Linked DNA regions of Homo sapiens: regions 1 and 2 are each linked to region 3. The links are contacts of gene promoters, found by promoter capture Hi-C in blood cells and fetal thymus (Javierre and others, 2016). All regions are on one chromosome and are shown on one strand. The core of a region is centred on a gene start or on the middle of the fragment in contact, and the rest is flanking DNA. Distances in the headings are between cores, read along the strand shown. Region 1 has its middle 54 kb from the start of SERPINB7. Region 2 has its middle 34 kb from the start of SERPINB7. Region 3 holds the start of SERPINB5 (serpin family B member 5).

The links. The method cuts DNA at HindIII sites, captures the fragments that hold promoters and counts their contacts. A CHiCAGO score of 5 or more calls a contact.
Region 1: a contact is called between a fragment that was not itself captured here and the fragment with the promoter of SERPINB5 in region 3, in 4 of 17 cell types (M2 macrophages, M1 macrophages, endothelial precursors and 1 more). The highest score is 7.1, in M2 macrophages.
Region 2: a contact is called between a fragment that was not itself captured here and the fragment with the promoter of SERPINB5 in region 3, in 1 of 17 cell types (M1 macrophages). The highest score is 6.1, in M1 macrophages.

Annotation. Positions count from the first base shown.
Region 1 is chr18:63,827,253-63,830,753 of GRCh38, reverse strand. No RefSeq gene overlaps it. Among named protein-coding and RNA genes, the nearest start is that of SERPINB7, 54 kb to the right of the region's middle. The HindIII fragment of the contact is 3,657 bases long and covers 1-3,118 here.
Region 2 is chr18:63,807,463-63,810,933 of GRCh38, reverse strand. No RefSeq gene overlaps it. Among named protein-coding and RNA genes, the nearest start is that of SERPINB7, 34 kb to the right of the region's middle. The HindIII fragment of the contact is 4,848 bases long and covers 1-3,471 here.
Region 3 is chr18:63,475,658-63,479,113 of GRCh38, reverse strand. It overlaps SERPINB5 (serpin family B member 5), which reads right to left and starts at 2,156. Exons shown (of 7, transcript NM_002639.5): 1 at 2,069-2,156. RefSeq lists an enhancer at 2,208-3,407. The HindIII fragment of the contact is 5,766 bases long and covers 1-3,330 here.

The DNA.
Region 1 (3,501 bases), core at 41-2,540, 350 kb before region 3:
CCATAAGATCTTACCAGGATAACCATTTTTAAAGGACAAATAGGTCCTTTCAAGAGCATAATTTAGAAGTCTCTCCAGCTCGAGTAAAATCTGACTAATCTTAACTAGTCAGCAGCATTGAGCTGATTCTGATAATTTCTGGAGTTACAAAATAGCTAAGAATGTGACAAAGCACTAGGTGAGCTCTCATAATTGGACTACTTTAAGGAAATTTTGTTATGACCATAATGATACTTTATGTTTTTATCTTTGAAATGCTAGTTAACAGGTATATACACCTGCATTGTGTATATAAGCCAAATGGATGAGATTTTTCTGTGAAATAAAATATTCTGTTTTGTTAGCTGCTTTCTCTAGCAAATCTATTTGCTGTGGGGTATGCTTACCCCTTTGAGCATCTCTTTATGAATCCTGCTAAAATAGCCCATTTTCTACATACTGTGATTCCCCAACCGGGCTGATCCTTGGAAGGACCTAAGGGGCTCTTTGAAAATATGTATACTCAAGTTCATCATGCAAATCAGAGTCCCCAGGAAGGTGGCCCTAGAATCTGTATTTTCAAAAATCACAGCCATAACATCTATATAATTTATTGTTCATTTTATAACCTCAAAATGTGAATGTGATGGTAATATTCTTTGTAAGGGCATTACTACATACTTCCAGATATGACTAATGTGTTTGGCTAGAGGTTTATGTTTCTCCTTAATTTACTACTTATTTTATATGAAAAGTATTTATTCAGAAATAGAAAGTCTATTCTTACAGTTGACAAGAACAAATTTTAAATTTACTTGTAATTTCAAGCATTCCTTGGTGGGCTGGAATAAATGCATTTGATAGCACAGTGGCTTAGTTATTATATACAGATCAATTCTTTCTTGTTAAATAACATGTCTTATTTTGGTTGTGGCCTGATATTTGGGACATTTTTGACACTTAGAAAAGTTGGGAAGGCTGAGGGTGCTAAGTAGAAGGGCAGTAAGCCTAGAACCTTCCACCTTGACTGTGCATTTTGTTCACCAGTTCAGCTTGGCTTTGTAGGGAGATCAAACTCATTTTAGAAGTGACCTGCCTGGTGCAGCAAACCACCATGGCACATGTATACCTAGGTAGCAAACCTGCACATTCTGCACATGTATCCCAGAACTTAAAGTATAATTTTAAAAGAAGTGATTTGCCTGTTAGTTCCTCAGTTGTCTCTTGCTGTTATTTTCTATTGCCTGACCTTATTTCCAGTTAGCAAGAGGTAAGTGGCTTGATAATAGTTTAAGTGGTCTTAACCAAGACTTATTTTAAATACTTTCAAAGTCTATATTTCATAGCATTTTTCAATTGTACAACTGCATTGCTAAAATAGAATTTCTATTTTTATACAGGGTAAAAAACAGTGGAAAATTTTAAAGAAAGGTTCAACAAAAAAATAAATATTTTATAAATCAAAATCTGCTTTTTATTGCAAATGTAGCTAGGATAGCCACTTGGAAATTAATTTGCTTCCCTAAGGCCAGAAATAATTTAGCAGTTCTTAAGGACAAAAATTTTGAGGATTACTTTTAAGAGATAAACAAATTAAGCCATGAGACTACATGAGACCACCTCATCCAACGTGAAAGCCATTGCTTTTGTTTGGTCTTTCTGAAGTGCATTTTTCTGGTTCTCTCTGAAGGAGATGGCATTAACCAACACCAGCTGATTGGGAGATATGAGGCTGTGGGGTGATAAGAGATCCTAGATTTCACCCGTGGGAAGTGAAACAAAGCAAGACCATACTTAATCAACAATTGAATATGAATTATTTTCACTGGTTTTGTTTTGACTTTAGATCTATTTTTAACTGGCATATATAATTAACACCAGATATCTTCATATGAACCAAAAACAAGACTTTTGAGCAAATATGTAAAGCATTCCCAATTATATAATGGACAAGGAATGTGGAAGATGCAGAAGAAAAGAAAGTGAGTGTATAGCCTATTTATCTATTTTATAGAAACATGCAAAATTGTGGATGAAATTTTCTTGTCATACTGTTAATAAATGTTATACTGTTAATGTGTCTTTGTTTTTCTACCTTCAGTAAAATCCTTGACTAATAATAATGACATGGAGCAAAAACTCAAATGTAAAATAAAAGACAAAATCTTCTGAGAAAATCTAGCATATTTTCTTACATGTACATTTGCATGTACCCTATGACCCAGCAATTCCACTAGTAGATATTTATTTAACAGGAGTGAAAGAATATGTACTCAAAAAGCCTTTTACAGGAATATTCACAGCAGCATTATTCATAATAGCTAAAGAAATACCTGAGACTGGGTAATTTATAAAGAAAAGAGATTAATTGGCTTACAGTTCTGAAGGCTGTACAGGAAGCACAGTGGCTTCTGCTTCTAGGGAGGCCTCAGGAATCTTCCAGTCATGGCAGAAGACAAAGAGGGAGTGAGGCGTCTCACATGGCAGGAGCAGAAGCAAGAGAGAGAGATGGGGGAGGTTCTACTCACTTTTAAATGATCAGATTTCATGAGAACTCACTATCGTGAGAATAGCACCAAGGAGATAGTGCTAAACCATTCATGAGAAACTGCCTCCATGATCCAATCACCTCCCCCCAGGCTGCACCTCCAACGCTGGGGATTACAATTCTACGTGACATTTGGTGGAGACACAGATCAAAACCATATCATAAACTCTGAAAAATTCATGCTTCAGCTGGGTCTGCCTAAAGTATGATTGAAGTTGTTACAAGCTAGCAACTGAAAGTTAGAATCCTAAACTCTTTTGTATTTTATATGAAACAAAATGCATGTATAAAATATATTTTATATTCTATATTAGCATGTATTTATCTATCTGTAATATCTTTTTTATTTTCCCATAGTTTTGCGTGCATTTATCTATCTGTAATATCTTTTTTATTTTGCCACAGTTTTGATAGCACAGACAATTCTAGAGTAGATTAAATAAAGACAGAAAGAAAAGGTTTCGACTTTATTTATGGAAACATGTTTTATTCTAACTTACCAAGAGAAGTGGATGAGCTGCTTCTGCAAAAATTCCACTTGCCATGTGGGCTTGATTGCAGCTGGACTTACTGATTTCAGAGAGGAAAGCTTGAATACGTGAATAGACTCTTCTATCTTGATCACATAAGATAGTGTTAGAAAATACTTGAAAATGGGAATTGTGGTATCTGGTACTTTAGTATTAACTGAAGTTGACAAAAAAGGAACCAAATACTATTAATTCCACTATTTGTACATATTTATTTTATATGAAAAGTATTTATTCAGAAATAGAAACTCTAATTTTACACTTGACAAGAACTCATTTTATATTTACCTATAATTTCAAGCACTTCTTGGTGAGCTAGAATGAACATGCTTGATAGCACAGTGACTTAGTTATTATATACAGATCCATTCTTTCTTATTAAGTAGCATGTCTTATTTTGGTTGTGGTCTGTTATTTGGTACAATTTCTGGACACTAAAAATAG
Region 2 (3,471 bases), core at 948-3,447, 330 kb before region 3:
TATTCTCAAGAAGACCTAGCTCTTTCAGAGAGCCAACTCACCTCACTGAAACACTCCAAATACCAGTACCCACTTCTAGCAAAGGAGCCATTTAAAACAGAGACAGGAGGCATGGGATCACTCGTTGAGGAGCTAAGGACTTGTGTGGAAACACTTGAGTAAGAAAAGGGGACAGTATTCATCTTGCTCTGGAGAGAGATGAACTATAAAACAACTATTAAAATCGTCTCTAGGCTCAAAGAAACACACCTTGAATCAGTCCAGCAGTTTGAAGAACCTGACTTCTCTCATCTACAGTCTTAAGGAGGATTTGGATTCAAGGACAAAGAGGGAAAAAAAAGGAATTCATAATGAAAGAATAAATGCTATCAACTTCTCAAAGACCCTGATGCCTCTAGAGACACTGTTCTCTGATAGACCCAAGGAACAGATACTTTTTAAAAGGTTAATATTCACTAAATGTCTAGTCACAGAACCAGAGGTTATTTGCAAAGAGGTGGCTGGGTGTGGTCAATGACATCTATGGTATTATCTTTAATGAAACATTTACCGGTTTCTCTTGCCTATAAAGTCTATTGTCTATAAAGACTCTAATTAATAGTTACGAGTGAGGTGGTGCATCCCTGCCTATTGTGCAGGATGTTTAAAGGCACAGATCATCCTAGAGCCCTAGTCCCATAGAAAGTGCATCTATCTAGTGGTCCATGGCTCTTACACTTCACTTTCTTTGTGCTACGATGGATGGTTCCCATCCGGTATGCCCTAATTTAGGTATAAGTGACAGGGATTTGTAACCTAGGGAATCTATGAATGGGATTCAGGAGCTCTTTGAACTTCTTAAAATTATATACCTAAATTCTTTCGTGTGCATTTTTGGATACCCCTAAATCTGATTTTCAAAAGGAGTGCTTAGTTCAAAAGTAAAGAACCGTTACAATAACAGCTCCAGTGGCCTTACAGGGATGCCCCTGCCATCCAGCTTCTCCCCTTCTTCTGTCTTCCCCTCCCCTCTGCTCTGGCTGGTGATGTTACAGTTGTTTAAAGATTGTGAAGTTGAATCTTGAGAAGTCCTCCCCTTTTACTGCCACATTCATCCAGTCGTTCACAGAGTCCTGACCAGTCAGGCTGCCTCCCAAATCTGTCACCTTCATTCACTATGCGCATTCCCAAGACCCATCTTCTAGGTTAGGCCACCATCGCTTCTCACCTGGACCACTGTCCATTTCTCCCTGTCAAGTCTCGTAACACTCTAGCCCCATGCCCACAAATCAGCAAACACAACCCTTCAGAAATTCAAAGCAGAGAGGTTCACTCCTCTCCTTAGAGCCCTTCAATGCCTTTGCAGTCATCTTAGAACCAAAGCAAACTCTTCATCCTACTGTCCAAGGCCCTCTGTGGCCTGCCTACTGCCCCTCCCCAACCCACCTTTCACTGCGCTTATGCCCTCTACATCCTTGCAGGAATCCGAGGAGACTGTATTCTCTCACTGTGGGCCCTGGATCATGCTGTTGCACCCACTGGAACCCTCTCTCCTTCTCCTCCCATTCCTCCTACTCCTACTCATTGTTCCACATCTGAGCCACAGCATCCCTTCCTCCAGGAAGTCTTCCCAAACTTCGGGAATAGTGTAGAAACCCCTGCTTCACATGTCCATAGCTCATCTGCCCTCACTCATCACATTTATTTCCCTGCTATGCCTGTGGAAATTGTGACCACTCCTTCTAGCCTAAGACTAAGACTCTTAGTCACACTGAAGAGTATTGTCTGAAGAGGCACAACCATGGGGTGGGAGAATGGTATAATGTAAAATAGATTGTTTTTAAAATATCTAGAAAGAATTTCTGCTCCATCCACACTTCCCTTTCCATTCGGATCACTTTTTCTTTCTTCTCAATGAACTGATAATATAGAGTTATGTTATTTTGCTTTGTTTAAATTATACAACATTCATTAAGAGTCAAACTATTTGTAAAGGTTTAGTCACTTTAGTTTCACTAAAGTATTCTTATATTTCAAGGACAGTGGTATTCTTGTTTTGGTTCACAATGCTATAGGCAAGGAACAAAGAGTAACAAGGAATGTCCAACTATGCAATTAAGTTTTGTTAACCAGGCTGTTACCTGTTTTATTAGGTAAGACTTCTGTGGCTTTCTCTTTTGAAGGTGCTGATGATATCTAACAGGAGGTTTAGGTTTATAAATACTATTCTAGCCATGGGTTTTCACACATTCTAGTTTTGTCTGCAGGAATAGAAATGAAACATTAGTGTCAAGAAATGTCCAAATGATTAAAGATACATATACTGCCTTTCCCTGGATAAGTAGCATCAATCAGTCAGTGAAGTTGTCTACAATGTGCCAGAGATTACAAAGGGAGCAGAAGCTGTCTCTTCTCTCAGTGAGTTTATACTTAAGAGTTTATTATTTGGAGAGTTTACAATATTATTCCTGTTATAGAAACTCTCAGGAAGATTATTATAAATAATATCAAGCCAAGGGAAATCACCTAAATGTCTAAACTACCCAAACACGAGAACACATAGCCATTATGGACTTGTCCAAATTTGTAAGAGGTGCGGTGTTCCAAGAAAATCTGAGGTCATCAACGATGCTTGATCAGTCAGTACGAATGCCAGGGAAGAAGTGAGCCATGTGACATTCTGGGGCATGAAATGAGAGGACTCTGAGCACAGCTGAGGCATAAGTAAGATTTGTAATGAAGTCCACAACAGCATGTTATGAGGGAAACAGCACACATGATCCTGGGAAATTGCCTCTCCTCTCTGAACATTATTTTTCTTATGAAATAGAAATAACAATAATAATCATAATAACTCCCACTTCACACAACTGTACTGACAATTGAGATGAAGCCTGGGAAATTGTTTTGTAAGTGATGAAGCAGGAATGGCAATGAAGAAAATGATTGTGAAGATGATGACAGTAATGCTTCGCCTGGGCATTGAGAGATGAATGAAACACACTTCCTCCTACCCCTCTAATAACAGAAGATCCAGTAGTGCTCCTTCGCCCACCTTAGAGATCAAGATTGTGCCTTCATATGGGCTTTGGCATATGACTAGCAGAACATAGAAAGTTCTCAGGAGCCCCTGGTGGAGGTGGGAATTAGGGCTGGATACAGTCTGCACTTGTACTCTGACTTTGTTCCTTTCTTAGGACTCTAAGGGAGTTTTTTCATTTGACATTTGAAAGGGATACCTACCATATGCCATTTTCTGTCCTTAAAGAGTTTGTTAGCTAGCGAGACACCACACAACATACATGCACATACATACGCATATAGACGTGCACACACACAAACAACACATAGCAAGAAATCTGAACACAGCTCTCATACAAGGATGCACAATGTGTTCTTTGAGTCCAGCTGAGTGAAAAGCTACACAGAGAACATGAACATGGCCAGTTTCTTGAACAATTAAATGAGTCTTATCAAACAAAGATAGAGAGA
Region 3 (3,456 bases), core at 907-3,406:
TATTTAAACAGAGCTATGAGTATAGTTTTTTCATCCCTTAAAACCTTAACTTTTGGCCGGGTACAGTGGCTCACACCTGTAATCCCAGCACTTTGGGAGGCCAAGGCGGGCAGATCACTTGAGGTCAGGAGTTCGAGACCAGCCTGGCCAACATGGTGAAACCCTGTGTCTACCAAAAATATAGAAATTAGCCGGGCGTGGTGGCACGTGCCTGTCATCCCAGCTACTTGGGAGGCTGAGACAGAAAAATCACTTGAACCTGGGAGGGTGAGGTTGCGGTGAGCCAAGATCGTGCCACTGCACTCCATCCTGGGTGACAAAGCAAGACTCCATCTCAAGAAAAAAAAAAAAAAAACTACGTTTTTACTGTGTCAGAGTATCGTAGATATCATTTAGCCTGGCCTGCCTCATTTTAAAGATGGAAAGACATGGTGAAAAACATCTCTCAAGTATTTGGTATAACCAGTCCTTAGGGAATGCCATGAGAAACCTTGCCTATTATAATATCAGTAATGGAATGCCAAAAAACACAACCTCTGTTGTCCACATTCTAAGTCTTTGAGGAGCAAAGGATGTGCAGGATTAAGAAAATAGGATATTTTGAAGTTTCTGCAATGTGAAAGACTATGAGGACTAAACGAAGTGATTAAGTGAATCAATGTATATGAAAAGTGCTTTGTGGGCAAGAAAGTACAATACAGCTATTAGTAATTGCTTTAATTTCCCATGGCAGGGGGGCGTCTGCTTTGCTCTGAAGCATCATAGCTGCTCCTGTCTCTTTAGAAGCCTGATCTTGACCACTGACCCAGCCCACTGTTGCCAAGCAGTAAACTTACAGCCAGACTCAGCCACACCAGAATGGCCCAAATCGCTGAGACTGCATAGCCCCAAAGTCAATCCACAACCCAGAGGGATTGAAGTGGCACAATTCAAGGCGTTAGGAAGCAAAGATATAAACCTGCTGACTCATTTCCTTTGGAGACTCCTTTCCTCAGACAGGCTTCATCTCCACCCATGAAGGAACTCATCGAACACTTACACTAACTGACAGGGACTGAGGTTTGGAACCCATTATCGAAAACCTCCCGGGAGATGTAGGGGATGAAAAAGATGGTAACAGAACCCACGGTGTTGTGGAAACATCCCGAGCTGCAAGTGTGAAGGCCTGATTTGATCTCAGCGGTGCTACTTACAAGCTGTGTGCCTTTGGACACCAGATCACCTCTGTGAGTTCTGCTCCTCATCTACAGAATGAGGGGGCTGGGCTGAAATATGTCTAAGAGCCCCCAGCTCTGAGGATCTGGTTACAAGTCTCTGGAATAGCCTGGCATGTTGGTTTTTAGTATGATATGCTTAAATGAAGCCATAAGAAAAAGTGTACAGCATATGAGTAAGAAACTACAAGCAGCTATTACAATTTATAAGTCCAAGAATATGCATCTGAAATGTGTAACTTGTTTAAAGTTATGCTGAAACCCAGAAAACTGAAGGGAGAATAATTTCCGCTTAGAAGAATGCAGTTGCAAGTAGATGAACAGCGATCTGATGCTTAAAAATGCCAAAAAGAAGGGCAGTCCATATGCCTAAATCTCAGCCTTACAACGTCAGCCAGGGAGAAGAGCCAGCCAGACCCACCAATACTTCTCAACTTTCCCCAGTTTGCGGGTACCACACCCTTTCTGAAACTAGCATTGCAAAATTCATTCTGAGTTCCAAAGTAGGCCTGAAAATGTCCTCAGAAGTATTTTCTCCTCCGTGAATCACGGTTGCACCCCTCTACCACCAAAACCTCCGAGCCACGTGACTTCTTCATATTCTTACCTTGTATGGTTAAGTGATTTTACTCCCTCTGCAGTGTTCCTGGTGCTCAAAGGGTTGGGAGCTGGAAATACTGCCAACATGGGGGATGAGAGGCGACAGTACTCAACCCAACAGCCCGTCTTTGAAAACAGCCCCAAAATGGACCTAAGTCCATTTTGTTCACCATCTCAAATCAGCTCAAATAACGATATTTATGAATTTCCCTGAAAAAAGGAAGTCACCAGCCCTGCTACCCCACCTTGCTTACCTGGAGTCACAGTTATCCTGGAAAATGCGTGGAAAAGGAACAGGCAAGCGAGGAGCACAAAGACCTGGATGTGGAGGCGACCGTGTCTGGGCAGAAGCAGCGGTGGCTCACCTGGGCAGCACCGCCACGCCCACTGCCAGCCCAGCTCCACGCCCCGCCCCGCCCCGCCTCGGCGGCACTCCTCTCCTACTCAAGCCTCTTGGCAGCTTGTCCACAATTGAAAGAAATGATTCAGGCTGAAGTTACTGTTGTCTGCACAGCTTCCAAAAGGCCTCCAACATGTTCGGGCAGGAAGGGGCTGTGAGTTACATGCATACGTACAGACATGCGTACGGCAATCCTCTCGGCCCACGCAGGACCGGAAGGTGAAATATTCGATGAAATAAAAGTAATGTGTGATGATAGTAACACTACAAATTTCTCAGACACGTTGGTGGCACAAAAAGTACTCTGATCTCCATTCTTTTTGTGTAAACTGCAGCAGCTCATTCTGCTAGATGCCAAGAGAGGTAGCTGCCCATTAAACAGAAAGACAATCAAAAAAGAAGGAATGGATATATGTATAAACACAGTGCCTACCTAAAAATTAGGTACTATTAGCAAAATATTTACTACCAAATTGGTAGGAGATATTGTTTAATGGGTGGCGCAGGAAGTTTCTTTTTAAAATCCTGTGATTAGGATTACTCAGGCCTGGCGCGGTGGCTCACGCCTGTAATCCCAGCATTTGGGGAGGTTGACGTGAGCGGATTGCTTGAGCCCAGGAGTTTGAGACCAACCTGGGCAACATGGTGAGACCCCATCTCTACAAAAAATGTAAAACAATAGCCTAGTGTGGTGATGCATGCCTGTGGTCCCAGTTACTTGGAAAGCTGAGACGAGAGGATCACTTGAGCCTGGGAGGTCAAAGCTGCAGTGAGCCGTGAGCTAACCACTGTACTTCAGCCTGGGTGACAGAGCAAAAGAAACAAAAAGAAAAAGGAGTACGCAGCTCTGCTCTGAAATCTCTTCGTGGAGCCTGTTCTTGTCCTCCTGTCTTCCCACAGCTTCTTCATTTGGCGGGACCTACTCCCTTCCAGCCGAATCAGTCTCAGGAAAGGACCTGAAACGGAGCTGGTTGCTTCTCTGCTGTGCTTATCTAGAATTCCCTATTGTACATTTACTACATTGTTTCATAATAATCTCTTACATTCTCCTATATGTGACTACAACAATGTTAAAGGTAAGTGCCAAACTTCATTCATTTTTATAACACCAAAGCTTGGTACAGACCTGATGTACAGTATGCAGTCAATAAGTGCTTGTTGAGTAATGAATAAGAGCAACTCGCTATATTAACTGACTAAACTAAGATTGATAACAGCTTCCCCTCCCCCATGTCCTGGGTA